Linked DNA regions of Homo sapiens: region 1 is linked to region 2. Evidence: promoter capture Hi-C in human tissues and cell types (Jung and others, 2019). All regions are on one chromosome and are shown on one strand. The core of a region is centred on a gene start or on the middle of the fragment in contact, and the rest is flanking DNA. Distances in the headings are between cores, read along the strand shown.

What was found. Contacts are between HindIII fragments. The study calls those that stand out against the background at their distance.
Region 1: a contact is called between a fragment that was not itself captured here and the fragment with the promoter of FGFBP3 in region 2, in 1 of the 25 tissues and cell types used here (dorsolateral prefrontal cortex).

Annotation. Positions count from the first base shown.
Region 1 is chr10:91,480,212-91,487,255 of GRCh38, reverse strand. HECTD2 (HECT domain E3 ubiquitin protein ligase 2) reads right to left here. Exons shown (of 21, transcript NM_182765.6): 7 at 6,117-6,162; 8 at 4,180-4,289; 9 at 2,601-2,749; 10 at 1,953-2,076. The region is part of intron 3 of HECTD2-AS1 (HECTD2 antisense RNA 1); the gene reads left to right. Among named protein-coding and RNA genes, the nearest start is that of HECTD2, 73 kb to the right of the region's middle. The HindIII fragment of the contact is 3,296 bases long and covers 563-3,858 here.
Region 2 is chr10:91,906,489-91,913,649 of GRCh38, reverse strand. It overlaps FGFBP3 (fibroblast growth factor binding protein 3), which reads left to right and starts at 4,164. Exons shown (of 2, transcript NM_152429.5): 1 at 4,164-4,252; 2 at 4,603-7,066. The coding sequence starts at 4,681. The coding sequence ends at 5,457. It overlaps FGFBP3-AS1 (FGFBP3 antisense RNA 1), which reads right to left and starts at 5,521. Exons shown (of 2, transcript NR_199602.1): 1 at 5,401-5,521; 2 at 4,302-4,753. RefSeq lists an enhancer at 4,524-4,818 and a silencer at 4,722-5,291. The HindIII fragment of the contact is 15,807 bases long and covers 1-7,161 here.

The DNA of each region.
Region 1 (7,044 bases), core at 961-3,460, 420 kb after region 2:
ATGAAAAAATCTAACAATAACTACAGTATGTAAAAAGTAAAGTAATATATTTAAGACCAATAAAAATAAATCAGAAATGTATGTTACATTTAGTATTATATTTAATGGTGTGGTAATAGGAAATGGTATGTATTTGTAATTACACATTATAAAAAGGTTATGAAAATAACCCCTCCTGGGCTAGAACATTCTATGCTATGCACAAAAGCCACAAACTACACAGAGATAAATGCATTTAGAAAGAATGAATATGGCAGCAATGACACTTCTGGAGTTAGATTGCCATTCAAAGTGACTACAGTGAATCTATCAGTTACAGCTGGAATCCCTCTGAGCATAGTCAGGTGGTACAACTGTGACCACTGAGAAAAAAGGCATTATTAGGAAAATGGATATAGCCTTAGTGTAAACTGAAAGTGAGATGGCTTTTACCATGGGACAAAATTGTTAATAAAAGTTGAGAGTTCTTCAGTACTGGTATATAATTATTTTGAATCATTAATGCTAACAAAAAATTGGAAATAAAAAGAAAATGCAATGAACTCAGTAAGATATATATTAGTTTTACTATGTACTTTAGGACAGGGGTTCTCAACCTTTCCCTTGTTATGCACAAGAGAAATGATACTTTGTGAATGATACACTGAAATGAACAGATGAAGCTGCTCATGGCCAGAGATCACTTGCCATAGGGCTCCTGTTCCCCTCTAGGTTCAGGCTGGCTACCCAAGGGTTGACAGGATCCTAGGATTAAAACCCTAATGTAACTCATTCTTGGTACACCAGTGTTGTGGCACAGTTGTTAGAGGAAGCTCTATATTAAAAGATGTTGTTGTCAGTGAAATATGCATAATAATTCTTGGCGCTGTTTTGTGGTTGTATCTACAACACATTACAATTATATTAAAATGGAAGGAAAAAGTATCTTTGTAAAGTAAACATTGCCAAGAAAATATCCATCTGGGACTAGGGTGCCCAGAACTTAAATTCTTATTCTTATTCAGTTCTGAGTGTTCAGATGTGAAATGAGATGTGTCCAGAAGCCCATTCTATGTTTCAGGCCAATTCTGATAAAGAGGGTCCCTGGAAAGTTTAACCAATTTACAAACTAATCTGGGGTTTTGAGGTTACTTATATCCACACTGTATCTCTTTACTCAGATTCCTCTACAATTAAATGCAATCTCCTGAACATCTCATGACCTGAGGATAAATTATGTTTGGAATAGTCTTGCTAGTTTAATCCAAACTAGAAGTGTGGATATAAAGTGCAGTGTATTAAATAATTTGGTGACTGTTTTACAAATCTATTAATTATTATAATAAATAAGCTGTGGTAAGGCCCTTTCTCTGTAACATCTACTCTTTTTATATTGCACCTAATGGACAACCACTTTTTCTTACAAAAGAAATGAGAAATGAATGTATGTGTGTGTCTGTGTGTGATCAATATATTAGATCATGCATCTGCAAACCATGGGCCTAAGACAAATATGGCCTACAACCTGTTTTTGTAAATAAAGTCATTTGGGACACAGACATATCTATTCATTTACATCCTGTCTAAGGCTACTTTTGTGCTAAAATAGCAAAATAGAACCTGTGTAACCTATAGTGTTGAAAATATTCACCATCTAGTTCTTTACAGAAAAAGTTTTGCTGACCCCTGTGCATAGAATAGTAAGAGATAAGAGACTGCATATTAAGATAGAACCTCTCCCTTCTTGAAAAGATGCTATTAACCAAACCAAAACCAAATTAACATGTACATAAATTCAAAATGTAGCAGAAAAAGAAAATACTTTAATAAATATGATATTTCAAGGCTATCTGAACTATATTTATACATTTATATGTAAACGTATGTGTAAACTTCATATAAACTTAAACTCTAGTCATTCTTTTGAATAGTATTTCATTTAGGTGGATAATCAAAGGAACTTTTGTTCATACCTGTGAGAGTTTCCAAAGTTTTGCCAAGTATGATATTCTTCCATGAGATCAATGTGATCCAATGTAGAATTATAGAAATCAGTATAAGGAATAAGGGGAGGGTGAACTAAATTGTTTGCAGTATCTGTAAAGATAAATTCTAACATAAAGACTTTTTCCAACATGTACAAGATTCATTCTAATAATAAAAACATCATTTTAATGTCTACAAGACAGCCTTGACCTAGAAACTCCTATTTTAAATAAATGTAGCTCCAAATGAAAGGGGTAATTTAAAAATTGTGGTTAAAATGCAGCCAATAGTTTCTTGCTTAAAAAAGAAAACTTGTGGTGAGGATTATAATAGTATTAAAGGGAATATGCAGATGGCCATTTACTCCTATTTCTGTGTGTTCTCTCTTAGGGGTCCTAGCTCATATGCACTTAATTGCCATAATACAGAACACTGTCCACTAAAAGACATAAAGCTTTTTTCATGCTTATAAATTATGAAATCTATTATCAAAGTAGAAAATAAATTACAACTCTTTCCTTCACAGAAATGGTTTAAAATTTAAGAATGCCTCTATAGTCTTTTGAAATCCTTAAGAAATATCCCTAAAATGTAACAAAAGAAAAGTAAAAAATGATAGAATAATAAAAACCTACTAAGTAAAGCCAACACTTTAGCGGCTGATGGAATCCACCAGGAACACTTTGTTATAGGTGGAAATTCTTCAGGCTTTGCAGGAAACAGGCGTAAAGAAATAAATTGCAGCAATCTCTCTACCAATTGTTTGAACCTCTTCTGGGACAATCTGGTAAAGATTTCAAAATAATTGCAATCAAAATTCACATTTTCTATTTCCAAAATTATCTGTTAGATATTAAACTACATCCTAAGCCACAAAATTTTAGACTATTCCCCCAAATTCTATTTCTTAAATTGCCAAACATTTGAAAAGATACAAAATCTTACCTTGAATACTGTCTTCGTTAAATGAGAAATAAACACCAAAATTACTATAAAGTTAGTAACAAACATTTTAAAGACTTTCAATATTCAGTCTTCATTATTCACAGATTCTATATTTCCAAATTTGCCTACTTGGTAAAATTTAATTGTTAATCCCCAAATCAATACTTGTGTTTTCATGGTCATTTGGGGACATGTGAAAGATGTTAGTCTCCTGACATGCACATTTCCAGCTGAGGTCAAAGTGATGTTCTGCCTTGTTTTAGCTCAATACTCTCTCTTTGCAAGTGTCCTTTATGCAATCCATTTAGCTTCATGTTTTTCACATTTTGGTGCTTTTTGTTGGTGATTTTGCAATTTCAAAATGGCCAAGTGTAGTGCTAAAATGCTGTCTAGTGTTCCTAACAAGAAGGTTGTGATGTGCCCTACAGAGAAAATATGTATGTTAGAGAAGCTTCATTCAGGCATGAGTTACAGTGCTGCTAGCCGTGAGTTCAATGATAATGAATCAATGACTTCTATTAAATGAAGTGTGTCTTTAAAAAAAACACTCATAAAGCAAAGTTATATACTGATTGGCTGACAAAAATGTGATCAGAGGCTCACAGGAACCTAACCCTGTATTTCCCCTTGAAGCAATGGTTCTGTATTTATTAATTCCATGTTTGTGGTGACATTATAGAATATAACTACTATGAATAATGATAATTTACTGCATTTAAAATTTCTTTTGGAAATATTTTGCCTTTCTACTTTTATCAGTCATGGAGAAGTCATTGTTCATGTGGGTATAGTTCTGTGAAAAAAGTATTATGCTTTTACAAATTGATATTGATGGCTAGCCTATATTTTACAATGACATTTTTAGGTAAGGAGAAAGCGCCATTTAAATAATGGTGAAATTTATGAATTTACAGATAGAAAATAAAAAGACACACATTAAAATAGTAGTGTCTGAGCAAATCCAGTCACCATCTTTGAGATACGTAAAAAACCAATAATAGGAATGTGCTATATAAAAAGTGAAGGCAGTAGACAGAAATTCTCAACAGCTTGTGCAAACAAATTGGTTACTTACATTAAAAACAGATTTTTAATTATCCTTTATGTAGTACTAAAGTAGATTTTTGTAACTGGCTTTTGAAGCATTGTGAATATAAGCATCATTTCTAAAGACCTGAAAATATTTAAATATATTTTATTGTAAAATTACTAATACCAAACTTAAAACTGTGAGACTATAAAAGTTCTTAATATCATAGAATGATTTACTTTTTAAACCAGTGAACTAGGAAATGATGGTCAGCTTCCACTAAGGTAGCTATCTGTCGTAGCAAGTGAGCATAGATGACATACGTAGATGTGTTATTAAACTGAGGATTCTGAAAAAGATATTAAAGATAATTGTGTTAAAATTCTGTTAACACGTAAAAGGAAAGACACTAAGCTTAATAAGTACGTGGTAAATTCAGGAAACAAAATTTGAGATTATAAAATAACAATAACCTATTTGTTATTTAATTAACAGAGACTTTCATTTACACTGCGGCTATACAGTGAAAAGAGCATGGGCTTTGGAGTTAAGACAGATCTGGGTCTGAGGGCTAATTCTACCACTTACTAGCTATATGCCCTTAGGCATGTTCCTTACACTTTGATTCTCAATGTCCTTATCTGTAAAATGGGAATGATATTCTCTATCTTAAGGGTTGTTTTGAGTATCGAAAAAGAAAATGTATATAAAGCACCTTCATAAAAAGTGCCTTCATAAATGGTACCAATCACTATCATCCAATTAAAAGCAAAAAACCTGGGTGTTCCTTGATTAAAAGCTAGAAAAACGAAGTAAAAGCTGGTTGTGAAACTTTTGCCATTGTAAAATGAGTTAGCCTCATATATCACAAAGAACAAGGGGAGAAACACATACAGCTTCTGACAACTTTTAAATGATAAAGGGACGCTGAAGGAATACTTGTAAACTAAGAAAAGCCTTTAGTTAATGTTTCCAAAATATAAAATTCTAGCACAATGTACATTTCAGCACATCATGGAAAAAATAAATATTATTGAAAAAAACCTCCTGAAATTGTGAAAAATAAGAGAGCACCATGTGTTTTTCAAAACTGACTTATTGACAGAACAACTCAAAATCTGGGACTGACCTCAGCTGATAACTTCATCTGGTAATGGCTCTTGAGAAGAACAAAATATGAGCAGAGCTTATGGCTGACCAATATACTCACCTAAAATCTGAGCTTCGTGTCATCTTTCTAGCTTTTACTATCTCTACATATGTTTATTCTTGAGTTTTGGCTCTTTCTCCTCTTACTTCTCTATTTTCCCTCCTTACATTTCTCTTCTTAACTACCTCTTGGTCATTTTCCCCCCTTTTCCACTTTTTCCTCTTTCCTCACTTTCTCTATCCCTACCCTGTATATGTTCTTTCATTAGACATATTGATATTATAATATCATAATATTGTACTAAACACTATACTTATTTAATATAGTTTTCCTTACTTTTAAATGAGATAATATACATGGACAACTTTTATAAATTGTAAAGAATAATGCAAATGTATTAATAGTATGCTAGCTATGGTAATAATGTATTTCTTCCTCAAAAAATAATAAAAAGTAAAAATTGCTTTTCATTTGTCTGGATCTTAATTTCTTTTTGTATCTATTAATCTGTATCTATCAAGAGGAAAAAGTTCATTATCTTCGCTTTATAACAAATTAAAAAAAAACCTTTTATCTTTCCATAAGAATTCTAATTGAAGTTATTGAAAAATACATAGTGAAGTGAAAACCTACTAGATGGGAAAATAAAAGAAAATCCTGAAGCCTGTTAAAACTAGTTACAAGAAACAGGTTTGAATGGAGGAGGAAGAAGTGCTTCCATTCTGTTTGTTCCTGAATACTCTGGCAGGAACTAAATCAAAATTTTAATCTCACATGTAATTTAGCTTCTGATTATTTATTTGTTATGGCTTTAATCTTATTTTTCTTACTTTTTAAAATCTTACTTATCTTTTAATCTTATTAATCCTACTTTAAAAAAAATCTTCTGGTTACAGGTAACTATAATTCTAAAAAGAATCAATAATGTTGCCCAAAATGATATTTAATATTTAATATCATTTCACATACACATGTAGGGATTGAGATCTGACTTAGACAACTTCAACTAGGTTCTGGTTCTCTTACCTGTAAAAGTATAAAATATGCTCTAAGATCATCTTTTGTTCGTGGACTGAAAAAGAAACAAGAATAATTTATTATGGATGAATGTTTAATCTCATAGCATCTAACGAAAAAGACCAATAAACTTTTCTATGAAGACTGAGTTGAGAAAAGCCAAAAACTAGGATTAATATGCATTATTATTGAGACAGTCCATAATATGCTGAAAATACAAGTGCTTCTGTGCCTCTCCTAGGCTGATTCTGAAGATAACTAAAGACTGAGCTAACTAGGCTATAACATTTTGTGAGGTAAATATGATTAACTCTGGAAGTAGTTAGGTGTGTAATAAAATCATCAATTTTAGAATACTTATGTTTTTGTTTTAATAAAGGATAATCTTTACTTAAGAACATTTATGTATTAAAGAAAGAAAATATGCTTGTGTTTCTAGGTTCATTCCTAAAGTGATGTAGAAATGTCTGTAAATCAAATCATACTTTAAATACATCCAGTATGCTTCTAACAGAAAGAATCATGAAAAGTAAGTAATTTTTTCCATCTTAATATGAATTCTCATAGTATGAGATTTGGCCAAGAGCTTTTGTTATTCTCAAGGCTAATGAGTGTTTCTTGCCTGCTCAAGATCTATTTGGTACATTCTCACAGATATCTGGAAGTAACTTCTTCAATTGAAAATGGTTCACCTCTATGACAACCAGATGCAATTCATGATTCCTAACTGGGTCCTGGATTGAAAAACAAAACCCAGATATTAAAGCTTTTGTCATTCTCTATGCTGACAAGTGTTTCTTTCTTGCCTGCTCAAGATCTATTTGTATATATCACCTATTCCTCCAAGTCCTTTCCTATCCTACCTAGAGCTTTATAATCTTGGCAAGGTCATTTATGCCTGCATAAATTATCAGGCATGCACAATAAATTGTATGAG
Region 2 (7,161 bases), core at 2,915-5,414:
CACTTTCATGTTAATTGCAGCATTATTTACAATAGCCAAGGTATGGAAACAACCTAAATGGGTAAACAAAATGTGGTATATACATACAATGGAATATTATTCAGACTTAAAAATGAAATAAATTCAGATACATGCTATAACACAGATAAACCTTGAAGACATTGTGTTAAGTGAAATAAGCCAATCACAAAGGACAAATACTGTAGGATTACACTTACCATAAGATATCTAGAGTGGTCAAATTCACAGAGACAGAAAGTAGAATGATGGTTGCCAGGGGCTGGGGGAAGGGAGGAATGGGTACAGAGTTTCAGTTTTGGAGGACGAAAGAAAGTTCTGGAGATGGATAGCTATAATGGTTGCAGAACAGTGTGAATCTTTTTAATGTCACTGAAGAGTACACCTAAAAATAGTTAAAACAACAAATTTTATGTTATGCATATTATGCCACAGTTTTTTAAAAAATAACTCCCCTTTTCTGATATTGCATAATATGTCTATGTGCCCTTACTTTTTACTCTGGGAACAGTGTTTGTGACAGCGAAGCATGGTCTCTGGAGTATCTCTTAATTACAGCTTTCAGATAATAAATTTTTTTATTGCAATTAGAGCATTATGCCACAAGATGTCATTCTTTCATTAAAAATGGTACCAATTCGGTTCAGTAGTTGTTAACAAAAAGTAATGCCAAGGCAACAGACAAAAGCCTGGGATTACTCATCCATGCTTCACATATACAAAGACAGTTTTCTGGGAAAGAAAGGGCTTCCAAGTGTGAAATGTATTAATTAGCTACTCTTATTTTTGAAACTTGTTAATGTTTCTAATCTTCATAGGTACAAATTGGTTTTCATTATAAGTTGAATTGGTGTAATTTTTTTTTTTATTTTTATGTTTTTTGTTTTTTTGAGAAAGAGTCTTGCTCTGTTGCCCAGGCTGGAGTGCAGTGGTGTGACCTCGGCTCACTGCAATCTCTGCCTCCCGGATTCAAGTGATTCTCCTGCCTCAGCCTCCCGAGTAGCTGGGATTACAGGCGTGCACTACCATGCCCAGCTACTTTTTGTATTTTTAGTAGAGATGGGGTTTTGCCATGTTGGCCAGGCTGGTCTCGAACTCCTGACCTCAGGTGATCCACCCGCCTTGGCTTCCCAAAGTGCTGGGATTACAGATGTGAGCCACCATGCCCAGCCTGAATTGGTATAATTAAAACATAACTAATAGTAAAATACAAAGACAAAACATAAAGATCACTGATCACTGAAAGATGTAAGTGGTTTTATCACTAAATGATGTGTGAACCTGGACAAGTTATCTAGTTTCTCTGATTTTACCAGAGTGTTAAAAACTTCCTTTCTGAAGTCAATATACATTGCTATATATTTAATATATACTACTATATATTTAAACATATTCTTCTAATTCTAAAGTATTTTGGTTTTTATAGTAGTAACCAAACTATAATTGTTCAAATATAATACTAACAGGAGTTCAGTAATAGAAAATGCTATATGCAAGAGGACATTAGGAAATATAATAAGAATTCCTGATATCTTGAGGAAGTATTTAAGTAAAATATTTACTTGTGTAAAAAAATTACAGTCAGAGGTATAAACTTCTGCAATTAAAAAAAATCACATTTATTAATGAGAACATTTTTAAAAGATGATGGAATATTCTGAAGTTTTAAAACAGCTTTGCTAAGGGTCATTTCTGTGTGTCACTTTATTTCTTTTTATATAGCTATAGTATATTTAAACAATAATGCTGTCTTTTATAAGGGTTTGTCTATTTACCTATTCTTTACTCAGACATTGATGTAGACCTTGTCAGATTATTCTGAGTATTGTTAACAGTGCCTTTTTGATGGAATTCACACTTTTTGGCTGTCAACTTGTGCCATATACACACAAAATTTTGTGGAAGGCAGTTTTAATTTTTTGAAGAACATCTGTCAAAATTTAAGAAAACAAATGTATAAAATTCCATTTTTTCCAGTGTTTAGCATTTCTAGTAAGCAGTGAGGTTTTTTGTTTGACATACAGTGATGATGGCATTATTGACAAGCTATACATGAGACTGCAGATTATACTGAATCATGTTAAATGTACAGAAATAAAATATTAGATTTATATCAAACTTTCGCATTTGAACCAGTGGGGAAAACCCCACAGAAATCAGTAAGTTAACATTTCAATGTCTTTCTTATTTGACTAAGTGGAAAGAGAGTCTTTAAAATGTATAACCTGCCATTATGTAATTTGGTTTCATTTTATTCTACCTGTTGTGTGAGTTTAGTATATTTAATTTACTTTGTGTTACTCTACATACTGTTTATTTTTGTTACAGTTTTTAATTGAAGATGGACTCTGAAAGTGGTATAGGACCAGTGTCTTATTAATATCATTAATATATTAAGAGGAGCCACACAAAACCCATGACAAAATGAATGGAAATATTCTTTCTAAAAATTTAGAAAATTTTATACTTTTGCATTTATTATGTAAAATTATTTGTTTTACAATATCAAAATTTTTCGTTTAAAGAAAAAAATGCCATGAAACATTTGAACTGATGAGCCACAGAACTTCAGTTGAAATTTTTTTCACTTTTTAGCATGCTAAATATACATCTCAGTTTAAATATTCTGTTTAATGGCCATTTATAAATTCAAGCACTACCACTGGTCAGTTTTGTGTGATAGAATAAAAATATGTTACCTGCAGTGTAAGTATAGCACACTGTCAAATTCTTTTCCTTAAGGTGCACAGTAAATGTACAGATAGTTATAGGCCACTGTTTTTGCAATGTAGTACATTTCTAATCTATTATTCCTAACCTATTATAACTGTTTGCAGAGAGAAAATAATTGAATTTTTCTAATAATCTGTAAAATTATGCTAACTTCTACAAGTAGGCTTCTAAATAAAAATTTTAAAAAGAGCAAAAAAAAAAAAAAAGAAAGAAAAAACAGCTTTGCTTGGTCAGCACTTTGAGAGGCTGAGGCAGGTGGCTCATCTCAGGTCAGGAGTTCGATACCAGACTGGGCAACATGGTGAAACCCCTTCTCCACTAAAAATTAGCTGGGTGTTGTGGCAGGCACCTGTAATTCCAGCTACTGGGGAGGCTGAGGCAGGTGAATCGCTTGAACCGGGAAGGCAGAGGTTGCAGTGAGCCGAGATAGCACCACTGCGCTCCAGCCTGGGTGACAGAGTGAGCTCCCGTCTCAAAACAAACAAACAAACAAACAAACAAACAAACCCCCGCACACACACACAATCCCCCCCTCCAGAAAAAGCAGCTTTGCTTAAATGTAACATTTTCAAGATTCAAGAACACATTCATTCTCTCTCTCTTTTTTTTTTTTTTTGAGAGGCAGTCTCGCCCTGTCCCGGGTTCAAGTGATTCTCCTGCCTCAGCCTCCTGAGTAGCTGGGATTACAGGCATCTGCCACCACGCCTGGCTAATTTTTGTATTTTTAGTAGAGACGGGATTTCACCAGGCCAGGCTGGTCTCACATTCTTAACTATTATACCATTTCAATTGGTAATCTTACCGTTCAACTACTATAATACAAATAATTTTTTTAAACTTCTAATTTTTGGAGGACCCTTATAACTGATTTCTAATACCTAAAAATAATAAAAAGCCCAAATGTCCACTCCTGGGTGAACTGCTGGGCACTATTGTATGTTAATAAACTAGGATATTATATTTTTATTAGTAGTAACAATTATTAAGATTGAGAGTCTTAAGAAAGGCTATTGGAAATAATAGGTAAAAATGTAGAACTCAGAATATGAGAAATAGAATGTAAATGATATAATTGTGTAAAAAATGCCTAGTTTAGAATACTGAAGTTTGTTTTGTTTCATTTTATTTAACTTTTAAAACTTAGATCTTTTGTTTAATTTTTATTTTTTGGATGGTTAAGTACATGAAAGAAGAAAAACTTGGTTAATTTTGCCTGATTATTTTAAACATTGGAAGCAAAATACAAGATTTGTATTTCATACTACAGGACCGCTTCCATCATCCATCTGGAGAGACAGAGAGAGAGAGGGAGAGAGAGAGAGAAGCGCGGCGGTGATAAGTCTCCCAGTGTGAGAGAAATCGGGGAGGGGCGAAGAAGGGTAGGCCTCTTCTGTTCCATTGATACCACGTTCATTCACAGGGAGCCGGCTAAAACAGACTACTCCCCCGTGCAGTCGTTCCCTCTACCCTAATAAGGCTTTGGCGCCTCTCCCAGAACTCGGTAAGTTCAAAGTGTAGTAAAGTGCATGTTTCCAAGGAATCATCTGAAATGATTTTGTAGATAGTTTATTGCAGGTTGGAGAAGGGAGAAAATGAAGGAAGGGGTAGAGGGGGCAATTATCACGCATCGTTTTGCTATCGTATTTGCAAGGGGAAGAAAATCTCAATGCATACATGGTTCGAAAGTGATTATTTAGACAGTAAGCAGTTTCCCCAGGAAAGCTCCTCAGAGGGTCTCCTCGCAGGCTGCAGATTCTAGAAAGTCTGCGGAAGAGTAGTTCGCAGGTGCATGTGTCTGGGCGAAGCGCTGCGTGTGGCTCAGTTGGTGGCAGTCTCTGCCTCTGTCCGCAGGTCCTGGGGAATGCTCTTTGCCTGGTCCAGCCCCGACAAACGTGGTCTGAGAACAGCGGAGCGCGGAAACCGCGGAGCATGACTCCTCCGAAGCTGCGAGCGTCGCTGTCGCCGTCGCTGCTGCTGCTGCTGAGTGGTTGCCTCCTCGCGGCTGCTCGGAGGGAGAAAGGGGCGGCTAGCAACGTGGCGGAGCCGGTCCCCGGGCCCACTGGCGGCTCCTCGGGTCGCTTCCTCAGCCCCGAGCAGCACGCGTGCAGCTGGCAGCTCCTGCTGCCCGCCCCGGAGGCCGCAGCGGGCAGCGAGCTGGCGCTGCGCTGCCAGAGCCCGGACGGGGCGCGCCACCAGTGCGCCTACCGCGGGCATCCGGAGCGCTGCGCAGCCTACGCCGCTCGCCGCGCGCACTTCTGGAAGCAGGTGCTGGGAGGGCTGCGCAAGAAGCGGAGGCCCTGTCACGACCCCGCGCCGCTCCAGGCCCGCTTGTGCGCGGGCAAGAAGGGCCACGGCGCCGAGCTGCGGCTAGTGCCCCGCGCGTCCCCGCCCGCACGCCCCACCGTCGCGGGATTCGCGGGGGAGTCCAAGCCCCGGGCCCGGAACCGGGGGCGGACCCGGGAGCGTGCGTCCGGCCCAGCCGCTGGGACCCCGCCTCCCCAAAGCGCACCGCCCAAAGAAAACCCCTCAGAGAGGAAGACCAACGAGGGCAAGAGGAAGGCGGCCTTGGTCCCCAACGAGGAGCGACCCATGGGGACCGGGCCCGACCCCGACGGGCTGGACGGGAACGCGGAGCTCACGGAGACCTACTGCGCTGAGAAGTGGCACTCCCTCTGCAACTTCTTTGTCAATTTCTGGAACGGCTGAGACTGCCTGCCGGCTTAGGGAGGGTTGATGGGGGAGGCGTGGGGAAGGGAAAGCTAAGGGCGTCTTAGACCGGGGGGTACTGTGATAGAGATTGGGGAGAAGTCCAGGTTCTCGAATGGGGGTGGGGGCAAGGGTAAGGGTGAGATGCTTGGGATGAGAGTGTAAGGGGTATGGAGAATCTCTGGGATAGCAGAGAAGTTAAAAATTTTGAAAAGTCTCAGTCCTGATTAAGAGCAGGAAAAATAATGGAAACAGAAATAGGCGTACTTTAAATGTGCAAAAACTGGAGACTGGGGAGAGAAATCGATGCAGAGGGAGGCTGAGAATAAGGGGGAGATAGAGTGACTAAAGTGATGTGAGTCCCATGTGGGGAGGGGGATGCAATGTTTATTGTTTAACATTTCTATTAAATGCAGCCATGAGCAATTGCCAACCTGAGCCAGGTTGAATCAATGTCTTCTCACTTAATCAGCTAACAAGACTGCAGACTTTTTTTCCGTTTCTGAATTGGTATAAACTTGGATGCGGCGTGGTGGGTGTCATAGATAACCTCTATAGGGACAGAAGCCTCACAGGTCAAAACTGGCTCCAAGGAAAGTTTTGCAGAATGATTTCCTTTCCATTCTTTTAGAAGAGCTACCTTTTTTTTTTTTTTTCCCTGACAGGGTCTGGCTTGCCCAGGCTGGAGTGCGGTGGCTAGTCACAGGTGTAATAATAGGCACTGCAGTCTCCAACTCCTGGCCTCAAGGGATCCTCACATCTTAGCCTCCAGAATAGCTAGGAGTAGGAGTAGCTGGGACTACAAGCATGCACAGCTGCACTTGGCTTAGAAGTGCTACTTTATTTTTATTTTTGAGACAGGGTCTTGTGTCATCCAGACTGGAGCAGTGGTGCAATTATGGCTCACTGCGGCCTCGACATTCCAGTCTCAAGTGATCCTCTGCCTCAGCCTCCGGAGTAGCCAGGACTACAGGGGTGTGCCACTAGAAGTGCTACTTTTTAACGAAATGGTGACTAATGTTCTGGAACTTTCCCATTAACCTTCTGCATTTAGAAGGAATTATAGATGTTGAGTGCTCCAGTAAACAGTGATTCTCTTTATATCTGATTTTTTTTTTTAAACAGCTAAAATGTAAGTATGTATCTCAGAGTCATTTTGACCATTATGGAAGTTGTATCTCTCTGTTTCATGTAACTAATTATTAATATATTTCATTTTTAGTGTGATGTAATGAGAGACTGTGTGTGTATGTTAGGTGCTCAATAAAAACTGTATGGTTAGATTTAAAGAAGTGGCAAGGCAATGGAAATTCTACCTGCATTTGATCTACTTCCAAGTACACCTTGAATTAAGTTCTTAAACACATCTTGAATTGCTGGGAAAAGACAGAAACTAAGAAGTTGACATAAAGCAAGAGTCACAAACTGGCAGCCACCTGGCCTTATCATTGTTCTATTTGATTTGCACCCTGGTTCTCTTTCTTTTTCCCTTCCTCCCCACCTTCCTCCCATCCATTGTTGAATCTGTGGATGCAGAGCCCACGGATGTGGAGGGGCAACTATATATATGTTTTTCCATTATATATATAAATGTGTGTGTGTGTATATATGTGTGTGTGTGTTGCAACCACTTATTTGGGAACTTGAAGTTAAATCCTCATGGTCATTCCCTTAACAAGGTGAGATCGCTTTATTCTGAATATT